3 separate regions of the Homo sapiens genome follow, and all the other regions are linked to region 3. Evidence: promoter capture Hi-C in 16 types of primary human blood cells and fetal thymus (Javierre and others, 2016). All regions are on one chromosome and are shown on one strand. The core of a region is centred on a gene start or on the middle of the fragment in contact, and the rest is flanking DNA. Distances in the headings are between cores, read along the strand shown. Region 1 holds the start of CXCR2 (C-X-C motif chemokine receptor 2). Region 2 holds the start of CXCR1 (C-X-C motif chemokine receptor 1). Region 3 holds the start of PRKAG3 (protein kinase AMP-activated non-catalytic subunit gamma 3).

Evidence for each region. The method cuts DNA at HindIII sites, captures the fragments that hold promoters and counts their contacts. A CHiCAGO score of 5 or more calls a contact.
Region 1: the fragment with the promoter of CXCR2 here is called in contact with the fragment with the promoter of PRKAG3 in region 3 in 2 of 17 cell types (non-activated CD4 T cells and erythroblasts); the score reaches 7.5 in non-activated CD4 T cells.
Region 2: a contact is called between the fragment with the promoter of CXCR1 here and the fragment with the promoter of PRKAG3 in region 3, in 3 of 17 cell types (erythroblasts, naive B cells and total B cells). The highest score is 8.7, in erythroblasts.

Annotation. Positions count from the first base shown.
Region 1 is chr2:218,124,449-218,128,373 of GRCh38, reverse strand. CXCR2 (C-X-C motif chemokine receptor 2) reads right to left here and starts at 2,346. Exons shown (of 3, transcript NM_001557.4): 1 at 2,021-2,346. The HindIII fragment of the contact is 2,247 bases long and covers 1,912-3,925 here.
Region 2 is chr2:218,165,330-218,169,695 of GRCh38, reverse strand. It overlaps CXCR1 (C-X-C motif chemokine receptor 1), which reads left to right and starts at 2,734. Exons shown (of 2, transcript NM_000634.3): 1 at 2,734-2,788. The HindIII fragment of the contact is 3,933 bases long and covers 2,427-4,366 here.
Region 3 is chr2:218,829,476-218,833,546 of GRCh38, reverse strand. PRKAG3 (protein kinase AMP-activated non-catalytic subunit gamma 3) reads left to right here and starts at 1,744. Exons shown (of 14, transcript NM_017431.4): 1 at 1,744-1,809; 2 at 2,172-2,211; 3 at 2,646-2,801; 4 at 3,166-3,569. The coding sequence starts at 1,777. The HindIII fragment of the contact is 3,600 bases long and covers 1-2,558 here.

The sequences.
Region 1 (3,925 bases), core at 1,097-3,596, 710 kb after region 3:
CAGACGCACTTAAATTGCCTGCCTACCCCAAAGAAAGAATCTTTGAGTCCAACTGTTCAGCAAATGTTTCTTAGTCTTTGTCACCTCTCTTTCCCAAGCTGGGGAAGAATGCAATGCCACCTGGCCAGTTGATGCTAAAACCAGATAGAGGCTTATTACATATGGAGAGAGGCAGATGACACCAGGGCTAGCTGAGCAATTCTGGGCAAGTGACTTTTCCTTTCTGAGTCTCAGTTTACTCATCTGTAAAATGGGGCCAATACAGAATCCAACTCATGGGGTTGTGGTGAGGATGAAATGAGGGATTGCTTGTAAATCACGTAAAACATACATAAAGTACAATGTTAACCTTTATTGTTGTGATCATTATTACTGGAATAGTTTATTCACTGATAACATGCTGCCTCTCTCACTACATCCCCAGTCAAGGGAAAGCAGTCGGCAGTGGGTCTGCTTTCAAGGCTGACTTTGATGACATCTAATTTACTTTGACCTGGATATTAATTGTCATATTAGCTGTAATGTTGAGTGTCTACCAGGTTCTAGCTTCTGGGCAAAGTGCTTTCCAGAATTTGTATCAATTAATCCTCAGGATAACCTCACGAAGCAGGCACTTTCTGGAAGAGGAAATGAAGACTCTGAGAGGTTAAGCAACATACCTAGAGTGACACAGCTGAACTAGGTTTTCAGTTTAAAAAACTTCTAAAAATCTGCTCTCAAATCCTATCTCCTGTTCACTGTAATAAGGAGCAGGATCCCAGCCTAAAGTTTCTGAGCTCCATTAGGTACCTCCCTGTGTCCCAGAAAGTCAGATACAAAGGATGTAGAGAGGGGAGCCCAGATTTGACATTTCCCAGTCAGCCTCCTTCTTCATGCTCCTTAGGTCAATTTCATTTCCATGGAGATCACTGCGGTTATATGCAGGGTGGAGTGAATTAAAAAACTGGCTTCTGGTGCGGTGGCTCATGCCTGTAATCCCAGCACTTTGGGAGGCTGAGGTGAGTGGATCACTCGAGGCCAGGAGTTACAGAACAGCCTGGCCAACATGGTGAAACCCCGCCTCTATTAAAAATGCAAAAATTAGCCAGGCGTGGCAGCGCACGCCTGTAATCCCAGCTACTCCAGAGGCTGAGGCATAAGAATTGCTTGAACTCGGGAGGCAGAAGTTGCAGTGAGCCGAGATTGTGCCATTGCATTCCAGCCTGGGCGACAGAGCAAAACCCTGTCTCAAACAAAAACAAAACAAAAACCTGGCTTCTAATCCTGCTTGGAGAAGTCATTCTTTCTGGGCCTTGTTGTGTGCCTTTGGAAAACGGGAGCTTCTTCTAATTCTATTCTGTTCAGCATGCTAGCTACTAGCCATGTGTAGCTATTTAAATTAAAATTAATTAAAATAAAGGCCAGGCAAGGTGGCCCATGCCTGTAATCCCAGCACTTTGGGAGGCCGAGGTGGGCGGATCGCTTGAGCCCAGGAGTTTGAGATCAGCCTGGGCAACATGACGAAACCCTGTCTTTACAAAAACAAAAACAAAACAAACAAACAAACAAAACCCAAAAAATTAGCTGAGTGTAGCGGCACATGCCTGTAGCTGCAGCTACTTGGGAGGCTGAGGTGGGAGAATCACCTAGACCTGTAGGTTGAGGTTGCAATGAGCCAAGATCATGCCACAGCACTCCAGCCTGGGCATTGGAGTGAGAGCCTGTCTCAAAAAAGAAAAAATAAAATAAAATAAAATGAAATAAAAATTGAGATCCGCAGTCACACTAGTCACATTTCAAGTGCTCCGTGGCCACGTGTGACTAGTGGCTACCATACTGGGCAGGGCAGGTCTAGGACATTTCTATTATTGCAGAAAATTCTTTTGTGCAACACTGTCTAGGTGAAGACTTAGTTGTCTTTAGCTCTAAGCTTCTACACTTCATCACCCCAGTTCTCAGGGGCCTCAGAGGAGGCTGAAGTTTCCAGATCTCTTCCATTAGAAATATGTTGCCAGCATCTCAGACTGAACAAGTCACCTACCTGCTGTTATTGGAGTGGCCACCGATGTCTTCACTGTGCCTCAAGGTTGGGTGGTAGTCAGAGCTGTTAGACAGGAAAAAAAAGATGAAACAACCTTGACGATGAAACTTCTGACCTGGGTTGCAAGGGGGAAATCCAGGATGCCCTCCTGGGGAGGTATTCCCACAGAGGAACAATGAGGTCTGTCCTGGGACTTTGGCCCAGGACAGGTGCCACTTAGTGATTCTGGGATGAGTGCTGGGGATTTTCACATCTTCCTGTCTGATGGCTTCTGGAGGAGCCTACCAGTCTGAAGGTGGAGATTTGTCTATCCACCTTCTGTCTCTGAATGTTTTGAACCTGCACTTCCTTTTTTAACAAGGAAGATGCAGGCATCCCAGCCCCCGCCAACGGACTTGTCTGAACTCGCACGCAGTTTCTTCCTTCTTTCCGGGGTCAGAGTGAGAAGCGTCCCTCCTTCTGTTTCTGTTGAATCCCCGCACCTGACTGTGGGACCCACTGCCTCTCTGGTCCTTGAGGATCCTGCTTTCTCTCCCCTCTGTCCTGGCTCTTTCCCTTCTACCACATCTTACTTATGGCTTTATCATGCTCCCTCTGTCCTAGCACCCTTCAGCCACCACAGCTGCTCTCTCCACTTCCTCACCTCCCCTCTGCTGCTCAACAAAGACACTGCAACTGGCTTCCTTCCTACTGCTCCACTGAAATAACTTTCGCCAAGGTTCCCAATGACCTCTGGGTTACTAAACCCAGCAAATCCATTAAAAAAAAAAACAAAAACAAATTGCTTTCTTTCCCCCCAAGACAACAGATTGGAGGCAGCATTAGCATGCCTCTCCCATCTGGAAGGACAGAATAGCGTGTAGAGATTCACACTATAATTTTTTTTTCTCCAGGAACGAATGCAGGAACTGAACAGGAAAGCTGAAAGAATCCACAGAACTTTTGAAAGAAGTGGCAGGCTGCAGCCTACTCTGTGAGACAGGCAAAAACTCACCTCTAGGCAGAATAGCACTGTACCCAGGAAGGAGAAAACGGCTGCATATTCTCAGCTATCACCACTGCTTACAACACCCTGGCTAACCAGAAGTCCTGCGTCTGTCCACGTGATAAGTTCACTATAATTATAACCAGCATTTGAGAAAGTCAATACTCTAAGTCTATCTACAACCAAGGAATCTTGCAGAGTTTGCATCACTCCCCTCCCACTTCTGTCAGAGATGGTGCTGGTATTCACTGCTGGGAGTCTTGAAGACAGGTAACACCACTGGATCCCTTGCAGACATTCCCTAGCACCAGCCCAGAGTCTGGTAGGCCCACTGGGTGGCTAGACCCAGAAGAGCACTGTAGTCTGGCTTCCAGGAAGTCCCATTCCTAGAGGAAGGGGAAGAACATCACATCAAGGGAATACCCTGTGGAACAAAAGAATCTGAATGGCAGGGCTTGAGTCCCAGATCTTTTCACTGGTGGGAAGTTTCCTATTGCAGAGACAATTGCTGTGCTGGGCAGAGTGGGGGAAAGTTTGCACCTCTACCCAATAGGCAGGCAGCCTCTGGTATTGTGAAGGGTCTTAGAGAAGGGATCCTTGTTCCCCCTGGTACGCCACTGCAGACAGAGCTGGGGCTTCTCCCAAAGGAACGCAGCATTGATGCACCTATAGACAGCCTTCCTGGAACAAATCAGGGTGATTGCATCCCCACGGGAGGAGCACTCCCCAGATTCAGGTTTGCATGACAGGCAGTCACAATTCCTCTCTACTTGGAACATCAACATTTCTACAGATGAAAATAACTGCCTGTCTGATCTGAATAGCTGGAACACTGGGAAAGGAGTGAAGCTGGGAGGTGGATAGCTTTCCAGCTGGCCTAGTGGGGGACCTGAGGTAGCTCCTACCCTTCACCCTGACAA
Region 2 (4,366 bases), core at 1,485-3,984, 660 kb after region 3:
GTTTAAAACAGAGTGGTAAGAAGATGTCACCCAAAGAGATACTACATTTTGCCAGTTGACTGGCATTCGGGCTGCACCTGTCACAGCTTTCTTTGTGGCATTAGGAGCTCTACATGGAATGGAAAAATGCTTCTCAGCAGGAACATTCTAGGCCATTTTAAGAGGGCACAGTTATAAGTGGGAAGTGAGGTATAGAAGATAGGTTGGGTGGGCTGACTTGCTGGAACATTTTGAAGTGGGTAAAATTTTATTCTAAACTCATCTATATGTGCTTTCTCCCTCCTTCAGTGAAATGCTCGTCCTACTGCGAAGTGAAAGGTTCTTTCCACCCTTGTCCTCCAGATGCAACTTCTCCTGGAGACCCCAGCATTGCTGTTGCCCTCACCACACTCATGCAGCAGGGCTGCTCCCCTTCACTCCTCGGGCTCCAGGAGACCAGCCTCTTCCCTAACCCCTCAGTGATTCCTTGAAATAGACTGGAATAGTGAACCGACTTACTGAGGGTTTAGGAAAAGCAGAAGGGAACTATACACCAAGAAGAACTTAACATACGGTGTTAAATATACCTGCTCTTGGCCCTGGTCTTTCTCAAGGGGGTGTCTCACAGGGGATTCCCTGTCTAGCAACTGCTGCCCCCTTGTGGCAAAAACTATCCTTCTCCCGGCCTCAGGGTCTTTCTTGAGTATAGGCAGGTGTTTTGCAGTCTAGGCCCCCGTCTTTTTTCTCCTGTGTCCCCAGTGACTATTTTCTGCCCTTGGGGCTGATTTTCCCTAGATGATTAATAGAGGGAGTCTCCCACCTCCTGGGACTACCCCATCTTTGACTCCTTTCTAGTCTAGGCGTTAGAGCACAATAGTCCAACATCAGTAAAAGCAAAGCATGAGTGGCTATTGTCCCCTTACACTTCCTGTTACCATCTATGAATGATAAAAGAGCCCAGGAGGAAAGCACAACTTAGCTTAAAAAATAGGCTTGCCGGCTGGGCATGGTGGCTTATGCCTGTAATCCCAGTGCTTTGGGAGGCAAAGGCAGGAGGATCACTAGAGGCTAGGAGTTCAAGATAAGCCTGGGCAGTATATCAGGACCCTTTCTCTACAAATAAATAAATAACTAAATAAAAAATAAAAATAAAAATATAATATAAAAAAAGAAAGCCAGATGTAGTGGCTCTTGCCTGTAGTCCCAGCTATTCAGGAGGTTGAGGTGGGAGGATTGCTTGAGCCCAGGCATTTGAGGTTACACTGAGCTATGATCACACCACTGCATTCTAGCCTTGGCAACACAGTGAGAGCCTGTCTCTTAAAAAAAGAAAAAAATTCTTTCCAGTGCAGAACTGTAGGAATCCATGGCATGGTAAATTTGGCATTTGTGGTAGGGCAGGATTTATACTTGCACAGACTGGCATTAGCTCCAAACATTAGAGGAAGGTTGGAAAGAAGCAATGCCAGGCAGACCAACTGGGCTGTGTGGAAGTGAAGCTATCAGGCATACCAGTGACTTTAGTGTGTAGCCAAAAGCAATAGACACTGAATCGTGGTGGTGACTTATGGTCCATGAATCACAGGAGAAATGTCTCCCTTCATTTATTCCACAACCATTGATTGAGCACCTACTATATTCCCTGAAAGAGAACATAAACATGAATTGAAGAAGGTTCTTGCTGTCTCATGGCTCCCAAGCTAGAAGAGGGCTGACTTGTAAATGCCTCACAGCAGGGTTCATGTTATATGGAGAAGTGACGAAGGTGCCAGAAGACTCAAGCTAGGGGACAGCCATTAGCTGCTGGAGGCAGCTAAGGTGGGTTCCCAGAGAAGCCATTCTCCGTTACTGAGATGGGGGCTGCAGTGACCTTGACCACAGCTCTTCCATTCATGGACTGCCCCAGCTCTGTGGTCTCTCTGCTAACCAGCCAGACTCTGGGAGTGGCCTATGCCGTCAGCCTCAGGGCCATTTAAACCAACTGGTCATTGGCAGTGATTGTGCGAAAGAGTGGCTGGCGGCAAAGGAGGGTTTGTGTTCCATTCAAATACCCTCAAAAAGCCTGAAAAATAAGTAGAGATTGAGGCCAGGCCTTGGAGTTGTGGAAGGTGGAGAACACTGGGAAGCCAACCTCCAAAGAAGACCAGGTTGGAGGCAAAGGAGGAAGGGGAGCTCTCGTTGGCAAACCAACAGGGAAGCCAAGGATATCCCAGTAACTGCTCTCACATCCTTGATGAGAATGCCTTGAATCCGAGCTAGGCCACCTCAAAGAAGCCTGCAAAATAAGTAGAGATTGAGTGCCTGCTGTTCAAACACAACTCAAGCGCAGTCCTCCTCCTCTTTCCCACTGGATTGCCCCCAAGTCCCTCCTATGGGGGACTCCTTCTGAAGTCTCTGCTGTAAGTCAAATCCTTCGCCCTTTATACTTGGTCAGGAAGTTGCAAGCTTCCACAGGTGATATACTAGGGAATTTAGGAATAAACAAATGGAAATAAATTCAAGAAAAGGAAAATAATAAAAATGATCATCCATAGAGTGGAGAATTCAGATAATGGACCCTCAACCCCAGCTTCACACCTGGGACCCCCACTTGGTCATATGGACCCTGGCAGTCTCTAATCACAAGTCTGTGATCCCTTGACTTAAACTGTTCTTCCCCAAATGTAGACATGGGTGGGGCTCAGAAGGGAGGTGTCATCTGATGTGGTTTCCTTATTTCCGTTTATTCATCAAGTGCCCTCTAGCTGTTAAGTCACTCTGATCTCTGACTGCAGCTCCTACTGTTGGACACACCTGGCCGGTGCTTCAGGTAGGAAGCCACCTCTGTTTGCTAGGACTTTCTGTGGGGTAGGGCTGCTTGGCTTGACTTTATTTTGGAAAATGTATTCATTTCTGTGGGAGCTGAGGATTTCTGCTGCCCGCTTCCTCTCTTGTGACCACCACTCATACATGGAGTTAGCAGGTGAAGAGGACAGCCTCCTCATCCCCTCTTTTTATACCTTGCCCTTTTGTGGGAAGAGGCTGACCATTCCCCAATTTGATGTTTATTGCTTCACCTTAAGACTTTGTCTTCAGTGAAAATGCAAATACTGGTAGGGAGGGAACACACTAAAATGTGTGGATCTGAGTGGACTCATCATACACCCTCAGGCCTGGCAGCAAATGAGAGGTGGATGATTCTGTCTTCCTCGATTTGCAGATGAGAAGACTGAAATCTATAGGGGTACGAGACCCCACTCAAGGTCATGAGACTTATTTATTTATTTATTTATTTATTTTGAGATGGAGTCTCACTCTGTCGCCTAGGCTGTAGTACTGTGGCACGATCTCGGCTCACTGCAACCTCCATTTCCCGGGTTCAAGTGATTCTCCTGCCTCAGCCTCCTGAGTAGTTGGGATTACAGGTGCACGCCACCACACCCAGCTAATTTTTTTGTATTTTTAGTAGAGACGGGGTTTCATCATTTTGGTCAGGCTGGTCTCGAACTCCTGACTTCATGATCTGCCTGCCTTGGCCTCCCAAAGGGCTGGGATTACACACGAAACTTATTAATGGTAGAATCAGGATGGAATGAAGACTGGATGCTAGGTGTCTTTACAACCAACCTCGGTGACTTTCCAAAGGCTTTCAGACTTCTCTGGAGAGTCCTGGAGCTTTGAGGGGCTCTTTAGGGGCCATCTGGGTTCGGAGATTAGCACACTCTGCCCCACAGTGGCTCAGCTTTTATCTGCTTCACATACTGGGCTTCTGGGAAGATCTTATTTCAGTAAACTATTTCACAATAGGAAATATATTTGAAAACTCTTGAATGATTCTGTGGATTTTTTCAGGGGTGGAGGGTTTCAGGGACCAAGATGGAGACTTTATCTTCTCAAATACTTAAAACTCCTTTAGACAGAGGAACAAAATATGTGCTCCTCATTTAAAGAAGGCTTAAAATATACAGTTTAATGCAATGTGTTGTTATCACTTCCTTCCCCCAGTAGATTTTAAGGAGGGTAAACAAGAATCAGGGAGAACATAGGAATAGAAATAGTAGAAGGGGACACCTGGGAACAGGTTTGCCTTCTTGCATTTTGCTTAATGCTGGCCCTTCCCTGAATGTCTAAGACCAACCTGGTCCCCACATCCAAATGCACAGACACAGCTGAGGATGGAGAAGGCTAAAGAGGGACAGAGGTAGAGACATAGGCTGAGAGGAGGCAGTTGTAGGTTGAGCTAGGGCTAAGGTGTTTTCCCCATATTCCATCTTACCCCACACTCAGGCCAGGCCTTAGAGTTGTGGAAGGTGGAGAACACTGGGAAGCCAACCTCCGAAGAAGACCAGGTTGGAGTCAAAGGAGGAAGGAGAGCTCTCATTGCCAAACCAACAGGGAAGCCAAGGAT
Region 3 (4,071 bases), core at 495-2,994:
GCGTGGACAACATAGTGAGACACTGTCTCAAAAAAAAAAATCCACTTGCAACTGAAAGAATGGCAAACACCCAGCAGCTGCTGGATCTTAATTATCAAATCTGGTTGGGCAGGAATGGCTAAGCCCTTTCCTGGCAGTGGAGTAAGTTCTTGGTCAGCACATTTGACCACCCCTGGTTCTGCTCTCTGGGAAGATCTCCCCTTTCCACTCTCCTATGTAGCCTCTGGCTTTTCCTGCTGGGAAGCTGTTGTTTATCCAATATCCTTTGTCCCACACTGGCAAACTTGTGCTTTCTGCAGTCCTTCCAGCCTTCACAGCCCTCTTCCTGCTGGTGCGGATTTGGAGGGCTGGGAATAAGGCAAGGGAAGGGGTGTCAAACCAGGCTTTGCTGATCAGGCTTATGGTTTCTTTGCCAATACAACACCCTCACAATCTTAGAAGCCTTCTGAGTGGCTCCATGTTTGAGTAACCACAGCCAATGGCCTCATGTAGACCTTATTTTTATGCTTGAACACTCTGGACTTGGTGTTCTTCCTACTCTCCTTTCTCTCAAACTGGTGGTGGCTATCTTGAGTCCATTTGAAAAAACATGCTTGGTGTGAAGGAAATTCTCTTACACTGATCTCTGTCCTCTGAGCCAGTTCCCACTGTCCAGTGAGCAGATGTCCTTGAGAAAGGCTGGGGACCACAGGAACAGCCCTGGCCAAGGCTGTCCTCCCAACTCCATTCTCCTCCACCCTCCCCATTGGCAGAGTAGGAACATTGAGGGTTGATGGAAAACACATGTAATAAACTCAGACAGAAATTCACCAGTCTGTTGTTGAGTGTCCACTCCAGGGCCAGGGCTGGGATGGAAGAGGCTGGAAGGAGGAGAGAAAGGGAGGGGCAGAGAGAGGAAAGCCGGAGCAGCTGGGTCAGCATTCCCAATCCGGACATTGACTCAGGCTCCGGGAATGCCAAGGAAGAGGGTGGCAGCTACTGGAGCCAGGCTGGGATCCTGTTGGCACCAGGGATGTAGGCACAGCACTCACAGAGGGTTGGGGGCTGGGACACCTGCACACCCAGGCATATCTCCCAACCACAGGTGGAAACAGATGTCTCTTCCCCTGCGGGGAGCTCTGAGTGCTCCCCACGCCTTCGAGGTGATTCTCACAGCTCTTCACCTGCCTGAAACACCCACTCCATCTCCTTCACCTGAGAGAGGGACACACTCCAGGGACTCAAATCTGGACATCTGGACATACACTAGCTGCTCTCCTGGACTACCCACAAACCCCTTGCCTCATCTCCAGCCTCTGAGCTGGCTGCAACTTGCCCTTTCTAACTCCAGCACCACCCTCTACTGAAATTAGAACAAGGAAGAAAGTTATGCTGATCTGCCTCCATGTTCCCTTCTTTGGTGCCTGATAAAGATGAGGGAGGCTCTTGGAATAGGGGCTCAGGACTCTGAGAGCCCAACTCTGCTCAATGACCATGTTCCCACATGCTCCAAGCCACATCCCCTCAAAAAGGGTCCCTCTAGCTTGTCCTCAGTGACCCAGGAGGCAGCTGAGGACCAAGTACCCAGATTATCCGGTGCGCCCCTTCCCTCCCAGCAACCCCCAGCCTTCAGGGCTGTAGCAGCTGAGCAAATGGGGGCCCCTCCCTCTCATTGCCTGACACCCAATCAGAGAGAAACCGATCCTGGCAGGGCAGGGTGCCCGGGGCCGGGCCCAGAATAGTGCAGCCCAGCCACAGTGTCGCACACTTGCTCTCAGTTGGTCTGGGGCTGGCCACATGGAGCCCGGGCTGGAGCACGCACTGCGCAGGGTATGGGGGTCCCAGGGGAGCCGGAGCCGGGGCAGCTGAGGCCAGAAGATTGAGCGCACGGGCTGTGAATGTGTGTGTGGGCGTGTGTGTCTTCTGGTGTGTGTTTGGTCTGGATTTTCTCGTGAATATGGGCATGTGCATGTTTGGGCATATGTATTGTGAGTGTGTGTGGTTCTGTGTGCCTGGGAGTGTTTGGATGTGTGTGTTTCTGTGTGTGTTTGTGTATGGCTGCATGTCTGTGTATGGCGTGTGTCTGAGCGTGTGTATTGGTGTGCATGGGTGTGTAGGCGTGTGTTCAGGGAGAAGGGGTTTGGGAATGTAAGGCACTTTCCCCACTCCTTCAGAAACTCTTCTCCCCACAGACCCCTTCCTGGAGCAGCCTTGGGGGTTCTGAGCATCAAGGTAGGGAGAATGCCCCCTCCCTGGGGCCTAACCTCTTCCCCCACCTCCTTGTCCCCCACTTTTCTGGGACCCCAATTCCCTCCCAGCCTGGCTTTTATCTTCCTCCTTTTGGTCTTTCTTCCTCATTGTTCTTCCTCCTTTCCCCAGGTGTGTTTCCCTCACCTCCAATTTCCTCTTTTCAGAAGTGACTTTCCCACTTACTTGCTGTGTGATTTGCAGCAAATTGCTTAACCTCTCTGAATTTCTGGTCCCTCACTAGCAAAATAGGGATGATAATAATGCCTGCTTTATAAGGCTGCTGTAAGTTTTAAATGAGAAATATGTTGGAGAAAAGCCCATTGGAAGCTTGCAAATCCTAAAGATTATGAATAACATTTGAATTGATTTTGATGCATTACTCCCTATTAACCAAACAGGCCCCATTCCCCTTCCAGAGATGAGCTTCCTAGAGCAAGAAAACAGCAGCTCATGGCCATCACCAGCTGTGACCAGCAGCTCAGAAAGAATCCGTGGGAAACGGAGGGCCAAAGCCTTGAGATGGACAAGGCAGAAGTCGGTGGAGGAAGGGGAGCCACCAGGTCAGGGGGAAGGTGAGGCCAAGGCCAGTTCTGGGGAGGTGGGAGCCAGGGGAGTGGGAAATCCCAGAGGAGCCTGGGTCTGGTCTCTACCTCAGGTCCCTCCATAACACAGAGTTGGACCCAACCTTCATCTTGTGGCCTCAGTCTCCCTACATAGTAGAGAACAAGGCACTGCAGTGCCAGAGGCCAGCATGGCCAACTCAGAAAGATGGGACAGAGCCACTACCTGGGGCGACTCTCAGGTCAGCCCCTCACCTGCAAATAGGGCCACAGCATCCAGGCTTCCCACTGCTGCTGTGAGATGAATGGCGACAGCAGATGAGAACGTGCTTTGGAAGATGGAGTTACTGTCCTCTTCCCCTCCTCCCCCAAACAGGTCCCCGGTCCAGGCCAGCTGCTGAGTCCACCGGGCTGGAGGCCACATTCCCCAAGACCACACCCTTGGCTCAAGCTGATCCTGCCGGGGTGGGCACTCCACCAACAGGGTGGGACTGCCTCCCCTCTGACTGTACAGCCTCAGCTGCAGGCTCCAGCACAGATGATGTGGAGCTGGCCACGGAGTTCCCAGCCACAGAGGCCTGGGAGTGTGAGCTAGAAGGCCTGCTGGAAGAGAGGCCTGCCCTGTGCCTGTCCCCGCAGGCCCCATTTCCCAAGCTGGGCTGGGATGACGAACTGCGGAAACCCGGCGCCCAGATCTACATGCGCTTCATGCAGGAGCACACCTGCTACGATGCCATGGCAACTAGCTCCAAGCTAGTCATCTTCGACACCATGCTGGAGGTGAGGCCACGGCTCTGCCCAACCTGTACTCACTCTCCATCCACACGGTGCTGCAGCCGCCACTCCCACCCTGCAGGATGCCCTGCTGAGCCAGGTGCCCCTGCAAGCCCCCTGAAAGGACTCCTTCTTAGCACTATGGAGGCCAGTTGGGGGAGGGACAGCTTCTACTCTCTGTTAGCACACGTAATTGTCATCACAGCTCTGCCACTTAGTAGCTGTAGGACCTTGAGTTACATTACCTTTCTTGTCTCTAAAATGGGGATCGAAATGCCTGCTGCACCCTACATAGTTCAGAGGATTCTTGGACTACCCAGTATAAAGCGTGAACAAAGTATGTGTAAGACATTGCAGAGGCCGGGCACGGTGGCTCATGTCTGTAATCCCAGCACTTTAGGAGGTCGAGGTGGGCAAATCACAAGGTCAGGAGTTCGAGACCGGCCTGACCAACATGGTGAAACCCCATCTCTACTAAAAAAAAAAATACAAAAAATTAGCCGGCCGT